2 separate regions of the Homo sapiens genome follow, and region 1 is linked to region 2. The links are contacts of gene promoters, found by promoter capture Hi-C in blood cells and fetal thymus (Javierre and others, 2016). All regions are on one chromosome and are shown on one strand. The core of a region is centred on a gene start or on the middle of the fragment in contact, and the rest is flanking DNA. Distances in the headings are between cores, read along the strand shown.

Evidence for each region. The method cuts DNA at HindIII sites, captures the fragments that hold promoters and counts their contacts. A CHiCAGO score of 5 or more calls a contact.
Region 1: a fragment that was not itself captured here is called in contact with the fragment with the promoter of TICRR in region 2 in 1 of 17 cell types (naive CD4 T cells); the score reaches 5.2 in naive CD4 T cells.

The regions. Positions count from the first base shown.
Region 1 is chr15:91,858,162-91,862,886 of GRCh38, forward strand. The region is part of intron 1 of SLCO3A1 (solute carrier organic anion transporter family member 3A1); the gene reads left to right. Among named protein-coding and RNA genes, the nearest start is that of SLCO3A1, 6.8 kb to the left of the region's middle. The HindIII fragment of the contact is 216 bases long and covers 2,221-2,436 here.
Region 2 is chr15:89,571,749-89,576,961 of GRCh38, forward strand. It overlaps TICRR (TOPBP1 interacting checkpoint and replication regulator), which reads left to right and starts at 3,721. Exons shown (of 22, transcript NM_152259.4): 1 at 3,721-4,492. The coding sequence starts at 3,839. RefSeq lists a silencer at 3,709-3,998 and an enhancer at 4,120-4,648. The HindIII fragment of the contact is 7,754 bases long and covers 3,529-5,213 here.

The DNA of each region.
Region 1 (4,725 bases), core at 1,079-3,578, 2.3 Mb after region 2:
ATTCAACCCAGAAGCAGACAGCTCAGGAAACTGTCTGTTGACATTTTCAACAGAGAGAGACATTTTTAAAGTCCTTGTCAAATTACTATGATGACTAAGGTAACCGTATTTTATTTAATCAAATTATTTTATACACTTATGCTTACTCAAAGTGACAAAATTCCTTGCCATTTCCATAATTACTATGTAGCCCCAGGTAGTAAGAAATAAAATTACCTTGATTTTTTTTTTCCTTATAGCTAGATTCAAAATGTTAATAATTATTAAGGGAAAAAGGTGTTTCTGAAAATTCTTTTCAGCCAGGTTTGTGTATTTATCTTTGTTTGTGAGGGGGTTTTTGTTGGTGTATTTAACAATAGAAGAAACTGAATGAGTTGTAAAATGAGCGAGGGCTCTATCCTGCATTTTGTTAACTCTTCCCCTCATTCAATTTTAGACACCTTATGAAAAGGATCGCCAAGAGGCCTCTCTGCAGTGGCACCGCCTTGCTAATCAATTGCCCAGCATTTGCAGCTCATCTTGGGTGCTGCTGGAATCGTGTTTTCTGTTATGCTGCATGGGCTGCTTCTTGCACGAAGTCATTGGTGAACTGCTGGGCAAAGGCAGCCCCACCAACAGGGTCTCTGTGAATTTATTTTGCACACCTAAAAGCAAACTTTGAGGTGCTGCCTTGATCAGGGACTGTATTCTCTTAGCAGATTGGCCTGGATGAACAAGGGTAGTATTGCAAAAATGATGAGGATACAGCTGCATTTCATGCAGAAAGAGTGAAGAATAAAACTCCCTACTAGCTGCATTTCTCTGGCTTTAGTTCCAACTCGCGCAGATTTCACTACATGCATCATTTAATAAGCATGTTTCTCTAAAGTGGAGTCAAAGTACTTCTCTTCTGCATATGTACTCTATTCTGTACATTGCCGCATGCATTGCATATTTACATACGTGTTTGTGTACAGCGTTGCATACAATGAATATTGTATGCCATACTTTTTGAAGGTGCGAAGGGACATTTCAATGGTAACTTTGACTGTATGGTTGACACATGGATTTGGAACCGTTCTCCCCTGAAGAAAATCTCGGTATTTTCTTGCCTCTCGGAAATGCCTTTGGTAATCTGTAGGCCAGAAAGATAGCATCCTTACTCTTTCAATTCATTTTTATTTTCGGTTTCTATGTCTGTATCTGGAAAACAGATATAAACAGGAAAAACAGTGGAATCATGGACCTTGGCTCATAGGATAAATGAATTGATGTGATTCAAAGACACTTGTATTTTATGTAGCCTAAGTGTTTATGTGTTAGCATGAGACAAATTATTGCTTAATGGTTAAAACTCCAAGTTAAATGATTACAGTTCCAAGGTGGAGAAAGGCAAGTGTCTGTGGCAGCTGTCGCTTATTCGATGAGTGTTAGAAGACTGGGATTCATGCCTATGTCCTCCCCTTACCTGCTCTGTGACCTTGAGCTGTTTACTTAATCTCTGTGTACCTCAATTTTTCATTTTATAACTGGGGTTATAATAGTACCTACCCTCTGTTTTGCTGTGAGGATGAACTGAGTCAGTACATGTAAAGCACCTTGAACAATATCTGGCACATAGTGAGTGCCCAGGAAATATTAGCTATTACTATTAATAATAATATGGTTATGCATATTTACTGCAAACATAATAACCGTGTAGCCCCAACCAATGAGAAATAAAATTATTTCAATTAAACTTTAGTTTTGGTTTAGTGAATTGCATATTCAAGTAGTTTCCTATTCTACATGGACATTTTTGTCTGGGAGGTAAAAAGTTTTTAAGGGCAAGTAATAAGCTAAATATCAGTTGCTAATTCTGTTTATTCCCTTATAAATATAGCAATCCATTTCATCTTAAAGATGCTATAAAAATTAGTCACATGGGAGAGGAGCCCACTGCAGGAATGGTGATTCATGTTGATCATTTACAGTCCATGGGTACTTGAAGGAGGTTAAAGCAGGGCAGGCAGGACTGGCTGGGCGGGGCAGGTACCCTGATGCTTCACTTTGGGAGGTCCTCAGTATCTCTTGCTGTGGTCTGTGGCCACTGGGTGCTGAAGGCTGAGGGTAGGTGGAAAGAATGTTGGACTTGGAGTTGGAAGACCTGGATTTGAACTTAGACTTGCTATTTCCCAGCTCCTGGCAACTTCACTTACTCGAGCCTCAATAGCCTCATCTGAAAAATGGGGATAATGATCAAGCTTATCTTACAGATGGTTGTGAGGTTTAAACAAATAGTCATGTGATAGAGTACTTCTCATAGGGTACAGTATTCCACAGTTGCTTTAACAGTAATGGTATAACCCTGCTCGTTGACATTAGCACCAACAAAAGTCCCTCCCAGGGAGCTGAGGATTTGGAATATTGTGTGAGGCCAAGGCTTCTGTTTCCTAAACTGGTGATCTGGGCTCCTGAAGCTTGCTCTGCTTCACTGGCTGAAAGGCTGAGTGACCAATTCAAGGGAGCCCGAGGTGTCAGGAGGGCGAGGACAAAGGGACATATGTTGTGGACATATGCTGCCCTCCAGGCAGCCTTGTTTAAAACGTGCCTTCGCAGAGCTCAGCCTTGGTTGCCCAGAGGGGCTCAGGTCTCACGTCTTGTCTGCTGCCTTCACCTCGTGTTCTCTTGCAGTATTAAGTGGACTCTGGCAAGCAGGTCTGTGGGCATTTCCCCACGCTTGGTCTTTTTTTTTGGTTTCTCATAAGCAGAACAATGGACCTGTTCCTGCAACCTGGTTTCCCATCCCATGGATTCATCCATCTCGGCTTACGGACATACCTTCTGCACAACACCACTCCCGTTCCATCTGTAGTCTTAGAAGCAGCCTTCCCGCCCCCAGTCTGGTCACACCTGTCCTTGCGAAGGATAGAGAAGGAATTGGGCCTTTCTCAGTGAATCAGGTGGCAGTGTATGTTTTAGGTGAGTTTTTAGATTCACCTTCAAATGCCACAGGCTTCAGGAGAGAGTCTGTGCTCAGAAGACCTCAGAGCCCCAAAGCCGGGTCACTCTGATGACTTTGCCGAGGGAGGAATTGTGTGTAAAGCACTGAATCTTGTGCAGCCACAGGTGTGGAGTGAGCAAGCCAGGGGAGCCTTCATCCATGAGTTCCAGTGACAACACAGAGACTGGAAACATTCCCTTGGATGTACACAGAACCTCAGCAGTTGGTGACTCCCAACTTCTTTATTTCGGTTCTTCTTTGTGGTTTTGAGTCGAGTGCCTCTGAAAAGGGAAGCCCTTACTGAGGACTTAGCAGCTCGATTGTTTAGTAGAAACGGTGTTAACAGCCTCGTTATTTCCCATATGACTGGGCATTCCTCTTTAAACACGGAATAGTTGGTCATTAGTACTTTCCTGAACTTAGACAATAGTTGCACTTATTCCTCCTAATCAACACACATTGAAAATATTTAAAAGCAAAAAGTAACATAGGCTGCCATAAGCCCCACTTTTGTTGTTGTTGTTATTTTGAGACAGGGTCTTGCTCTATCATCCAGGTTGGAGTGCAGTGGCAGGATCACAGCTTGACGTCCCAGGCTGAAATGATCCTCCCACCTCAACCTCCCAAGTAGCTGGGACTACCGGCACATACCACCAAGCCTGGCTAGTTTTCTTATTTTTTTTTTTGGTAGAGATGGGGTGTGGGGTGGTTTCATCATGTTGTCCAGGCTGGTCTTGAACTCCTGGACTCAAGTGATCCACCTGCCTTGGCCTCCCAGAGTGCTGGGATTACAGGTGTGAGCCACGGTGCCTTGCCAAGCCCTACTTTTTTCAGTGGGGTGGGGCGGGTGGGGCAGGAAGAAGTGTGAACTCATCTTTCCCTTTTGCCCTCATGATTTCCTTTATAAATACCCCTGCCATGACTTTTCAGTACTCTCCTTTTCATGGACGTAATAGTCCAAGTGGCATTTTAAGTTATCTGGTAATGGACTCAGAGAGCCCACTGACTGTAATGATGAAGTCTTATTTTTTTATTTTTTATTTTTTTTTTGAGACAGTCTCACACTGTTGCCCAGCCTGGAGTGCAGTGGCATGACCTCAGCTCACTGCAACCTCTGCCTCCCGGGTTCAAGCAATTCTCCTGCCTCAGCCTCCCCAGTAGCTGGGACTACAGGCGCGTACCACCACTCGGCTAATTTTTTGTATTTTTTTTAGTGGAGACGGGGTTTCACCATGTTGGCCAGGGTGGTCTCGAACTCCTGACCTCAAGTGATCCACTCACCTCAGCCTTAGCATTGGTTTTGGTTAAAATCTTTGCCCTCTGAAAATTCTGGGAACAGGCTGTGCCCATAAACCCATCCCATAGGCAGTGATGGGACTACCACATTTGTTCTGCCAGGTTGTCCTTTGGGACAACTTTTGGGTGTCTGGATAATGAACCTGTTCAGATAGGCCTTGAGACTTTCTTGGTAGCTCTAAAGTCTCTTCTGGCTCTCCGTCCATTGATACCTAAATTTCTAGTTGTGCAGAGCGTGAAGAAATGAGCAGGGGCTGATGAGGCTTTTAACAAATAGTTCCGGAGAAAATAATAGAAGGCAAACTAAATCCCTGCTCACAAAACTACAGGAATTTGAGGGAGTTAGAAGTGATTATTTTTACCGCCATTTCTGCACTTGCAAGGTTGATGTAGGGAGAAGTGTCACAATGATGTTTTTCATTTAAAGACTACTGTAAAATATTAATGGGAATGGCTATTGTCTTTCA
Region 2 (5,213 bases), core at 2,471-4,970:
GCATTGTCAGATAAAAAATAAGAGAAACGGAAGTTCAATATTTTCTTCCTGCACCCAGTGGGTTGATTGCCTTGGGCACTTCTTTGTGTGTTAGCTCTTCCCTTTGGAAAACAGTCCCCAACATGGTCTGCAGCATGTCCTCACAGGTCTCACTGCTTCATTCTTGCCCCTACATATTCAATTTTCCACCTAGTAGCCAGAGCGCTCTTCTCCAAACACAAATCATATCAAGTCCCTCCCGTCCTCAAAACCTTCCCCTGGCTTCCTAACATTCTCAGTAGAATATCCAAGCTACCTCTGTGGTCTCCAGAGCCTCTCACTGGCCCCACTGCCTCCCTGGCCTTTCTCTCATCCCACCACCTGCTCACCACCACCCAGCCCCACTGCCCCACTGCCCTCCTTCCATTCCTCAAACTCTCTATGTTCCTTCCTGTCTGGGTGTTTCAAAGATGCCCCAATCACTTTTCCTCCCTGCTCTTTCCTGTCCCTATCTCACCCGCCATTGTTAAACTCCTGCTTACCCCTAAAATCTCAGTTTAAATCTCACTGCGTTAGGTTGTTGCTTATCCCTTAACACCTCAAGGCACAATATACATTTCAGTAAGGTTTGTGATGCAATATGTCACAAAATGCAATATGTGAATACATTAAAGTTTAAACAAAAATCTTAACCAGCTCACCCATTGTAGTCCCTTATCCTATGCTTCACTTTCCCCTTAAAATTCTTTTCAGACCGGGTGGTGGCTCATGCCTGTAATCCCAGCACTTTGGGAGGCTGAGGTGGGTGGATCACCTGAGGCCAGGAGTTCCAGACCAGCCTGGCCAACATGGCGAAACCCCATCTCTACCAAAAGTACAAAAAATTAGTGGGGTATGGTGGTGGGCACCTGTATTCCCAGCTACTCGGGAGACTGAGGCAAGAGAATTGCTTGAACCCGGGAGGTGGAGGCTGCAGTGAGCCAAGATCACGCTGTTGCACTCCAGCCTGGGCAACAAGAGCAAAACTCCGTCTCAAAAAACAAAACAAAACAAAACAAAAAAACCTCTTTTCGGAAAAAAAATTTTTTTCATATTATGTTCATCTGTATTATTATCTGTCTAATGTCTGATCCCCTACCTATTAGACTGGAAATTCCATTAGGGCAGGAATGGTGCCTGGTATATAGTAAGTGTTGTTGGATGAGTGAAATGAATGACTGGCATAAGGATGAAAGGTGTTATGAGCTGAGCTGTGTCCTCCCAAAAAGATATGTTGAGGTCCTGGCTGGGTGCAGTGGCTCACTTCTGTAATCCTAGCACTTTGGGAGGCCGAGGCAGGTGGATCACGAGGTCAGGAGATCGAGACCATCCTGGCTAACATGGTGAAACCCTGTCTCTACTAAAAATACAAAAAAAAAAAAATAGTCGGGTGTGGTGGCTGGCGCCTGTAGTCCCAGCTACTTGGGAGGCTGAGGCAGGAGAATGGCGGGAACCCAGGAGGTGGAGCTTGCAGTGAGCCAAGATCGCGCCACCGCACTCCAGCCTGGACGACAGAGCGAGACTCCATCTCAAAAAAAAAAAAAAAAAAGATATGTTAAGGTCCTCCTATCCCCCAGCATCCCCCAGAATGTGATCTTATTTGAAAATAGGGTCTTGTAGAAGTAAGCAAGTTAAAATAAAGTCATTAGGGTGGGCCCTAATCCAACATGACTGGTGTCCTTATAAAAGGGAAGTTTGGACACAGAGACAGCCATGCACAGAGGGAAGATGACGGGAAGACACACAGGAAGAACACCAAGAATTGCCAGCAAACATCAGAAACTAGAAGAGTCAAAGGATGATTCTCCCCTAGAGCCATGGGGGCTGGAGGGGAGCAAGTGCATGCCAACACTTTGATTTTGGACATCAAGCCTTCAGAACTGTGAGGCAATTTTTGGGTTTGATCCTTTGTTATGGCAGGCAGCCCTAGAAAACTCAACCAAAAGAGAAAATTGTTGTACATGAGGCAGTAATTGCTGAGGACTTTGATTGGAGAAGCCAAGGCACATAAAGGAAGTTGTAGCCAAAGCATATAAAGGAAGTTGTTCTGTTTCCAGGTGGAAACAGAATTACTTAGCAAGCAGAATTCAATGGTGTGGAGTATTGGATCAATCTCCCTAAACACATATTCAGGTAACCGACCTTCATTTTTTGTCCCCTTCTTCTTTCCAAATACCATATTCCACTGATCCTAGAGGCACATCTCACATCTCTGAAATCAGCCTGTTCACTGGTGTCCAGCAAGAGGAAGTGTAAAAAAGTTTCAAAAAAAATCACATGGAGAGACCATCACAGACAACTTCCGGTACACAATATTATATTAACAGTTTAAAAATATGCATATAAATGCATTTCTATCTATATATAACTTCTATCTATGATTATCTATCTATATATAATTCCTTTTTTTTTTGTTTTGTTTTTTTTTTTTTAGTAGAGACAGGGTTTCACTGTGTTAGCCAGGATGGTCTCGATCTCCTGACCTGGTGATTCGCCCGCCTCGGCCTCCCAAAGTGCTGGGATTACAGGCGTGAGCCACCGTGCCCGGCCTATCTATATATAATTCTATGTATTCTATCTATATAGCGATATATAATTTCTATCTGTAATGCAAATCTACATGTGATTTCTATCTATATATACATGTAGATAGAAAATTTAGGGAATTCACTGCAGGTGCTGCTTGCAGTCCACTTTTAAAACCTAACATTACATAATAAAACACTATTTTAAGAAGCTGCACTAGGCCGGGCTTGGTGGCTCACGCCTGTAATCCCAGCACTTTGGGAGGCCAAGTCGGGTGGATCACAAGGTCAGGAGTTTGAGACCAGCCTGGCCAACATGGTGAAACTCCGTCTTTACTAAAAATACAAAAATTAGTCTGGGGTGGTGGCGTGCGCCTGTAGTCCTATTCAGGAGGCTGAGGCAGGAGGATCGCTTGAACCCGGGAGGTGGAGGTTGCAGTGAGCCAAGATCGTGTCAATGCACTCCAGCCTAGGAGACAGAGCGAGACTCCGTTTCAAAAAAAAAAAAAAAAAAAAAAAAAAAAAAAAAGGAGCTGCACGATGCTCCCCTTGGGCGTGTACCATACCTTATTTAACCATTCCCAAACTGTTTCCATTTTTTCTGATGTTAAATAAACTCTAAGATGTACAGACGTCTTTTATCTGGCTCTCCGATTACCTTCTGCAGATAAACTCCTAGAAGTTACTGGGGCAAAGGGAGTGAACCTTTAATTTTTAATAAAATTTTTTAAATTACAGAAAAAGCCGTAGTCGTCAGATTCTACTTCCTAGGCGGTCCACAGGGATTTCAACAAGTTCGATTCAAACCATCCCAAATTCCCTCCCGGCACTAAGTTTTCCTCGGTCTTGGGAAACGTGGCCCCGCAGTCCGCACTCACGACTGCGCACAAACGCTGGCCTCTTTCCAATGGCGAAACTTCTCGACACGCCCCCGAGGCACCACCTCTTTAAAATTTAAAACGAAGGCCCAGGCCAATGAATGCTAAGCTTCTCTCGGACCACAGAGACCCGCCCACCGTCACTCCCTCCACCAATCAGACTGAAGTTTTCTCCACTGCCCCTCCAATCACCGCCAAAAATGGAAGTTGCTCTCGTAACTTACGTAAGGCAAGCAGCCAATAGGAGCAAACCTTGGAAACTAGCTCCCCCAATAGCAGCAGTTCCTGGAGAGCGCGGGAGCCTTTCGACCAGGGTCCCAAAGGAAAGCAGTGAGTGGTGCTGTTTCCCTGAAGGAAGGGACTAAGGGACGGTGGCGCGGGCCCGGACCGGGGCCCCGGGGCGGCGGCACGGCCGATATGGCATGCTGTCACAAAGTAATGCTGCTGCTGGACACCGCGGGCGGCGCCGCCCGCCACAGCCGGGTCCGGCGGGCCGCCCTGCGCCTCCTCACCTATCTGAGTTGCCGATTCGGCCTGGCCAGGGTCCACTGGGCCTTCAAGTTCTTTGACTCGCAGGGGGCGCGGAGCCGGCCGTCCCGCGTGTCTGACTTCCGCGAGCTGGGGTCCCGCTCGTGGGAGGACTTTGAGGAGGAGCTGGAGGCCAGGCTCGAGGATCGCGCCCACCTGCCCGGCCCGGCGCCCAGGGCCACCCACACGCACGGCGCCCTGATGGAGACGCTGCTAGACTACCAGTGGGACCGGCCCGAGATCACGTCGCCCACGAAGCCGATCCTGCGGAGCAGCGGGAGGAGACTGCTGGACGTGGAGAGCGAGGCCAAGGAGGCCGAGGCCGCGCTCGGGGGCTTGGTGAACGCCGTCTTCCTCCTGGCCCCCTGTCCGCACTCGCAGAGGGAGCTGCTGCAGTTCGTGTCTGGGTGCGAGGCCCAGGCCCAGCGCCTGCCGCCCACCCCTAAGCAGGTGATGGAGAAGTTGTTGCCCAAGAGAGTCCGGGAAGTCATGGTCGCCCGAAAAATCACCTTCTACTGGGTGGATACCACCGAATGGTCTAAGGTAAGGAAGGTTACTGTCGTCTCAGATGGCGTGCACGGTGCTTTCCTTGCTAACCAGAACTTGGCAGCGTCCTTAGAACAGCCACAGACCCCGAATGAGACTAATATGACTATGCGTCCCTTCGGAAGGAAACAAATAAATAGGAACAGTTTTCACAACAAAATGGGTAGTTCCTCACTACCTACTGTTTAAGACCCCTCACAATTTGGGCCCTACCTGCCTTCCCAGACTTGATTTTCCTACACACTACATCTACTCTAGCATATTGAAGTCCAGTCCAGAAAATCAACAGGTCTGGACTGCTTGTTTTGTGTTATGTGTGTTGTTCAATCTGCCTGGAATGCCAGTTCTCACTCTTCCAGGCCAGTCTTAACTTCACTTACCCTTTAAGGCTTCTTCTCCCAGTGACAACTGCTCAGTCCAGCGTCTGAATTGCCATACACATTTTGTGTGGCACTTAACCATTTCTCCATATGTTTTGATTATGCACATCTCTCACCCTCCATCTAGTCTAAAAATACCTCAGAGGCAAGCAGCAGGTTTTAACACAATACCCAGGGGTGTGTGTGTATGTGTGTGTGTATATATATATATATATATATATATATATATATATATATACACACACACACATATATATACACATTTATTTATATACATATATATATTTATTTATTATTATTTTTTGAGACAGTGTATGTCGCCCAGGCTGGAATGCAGT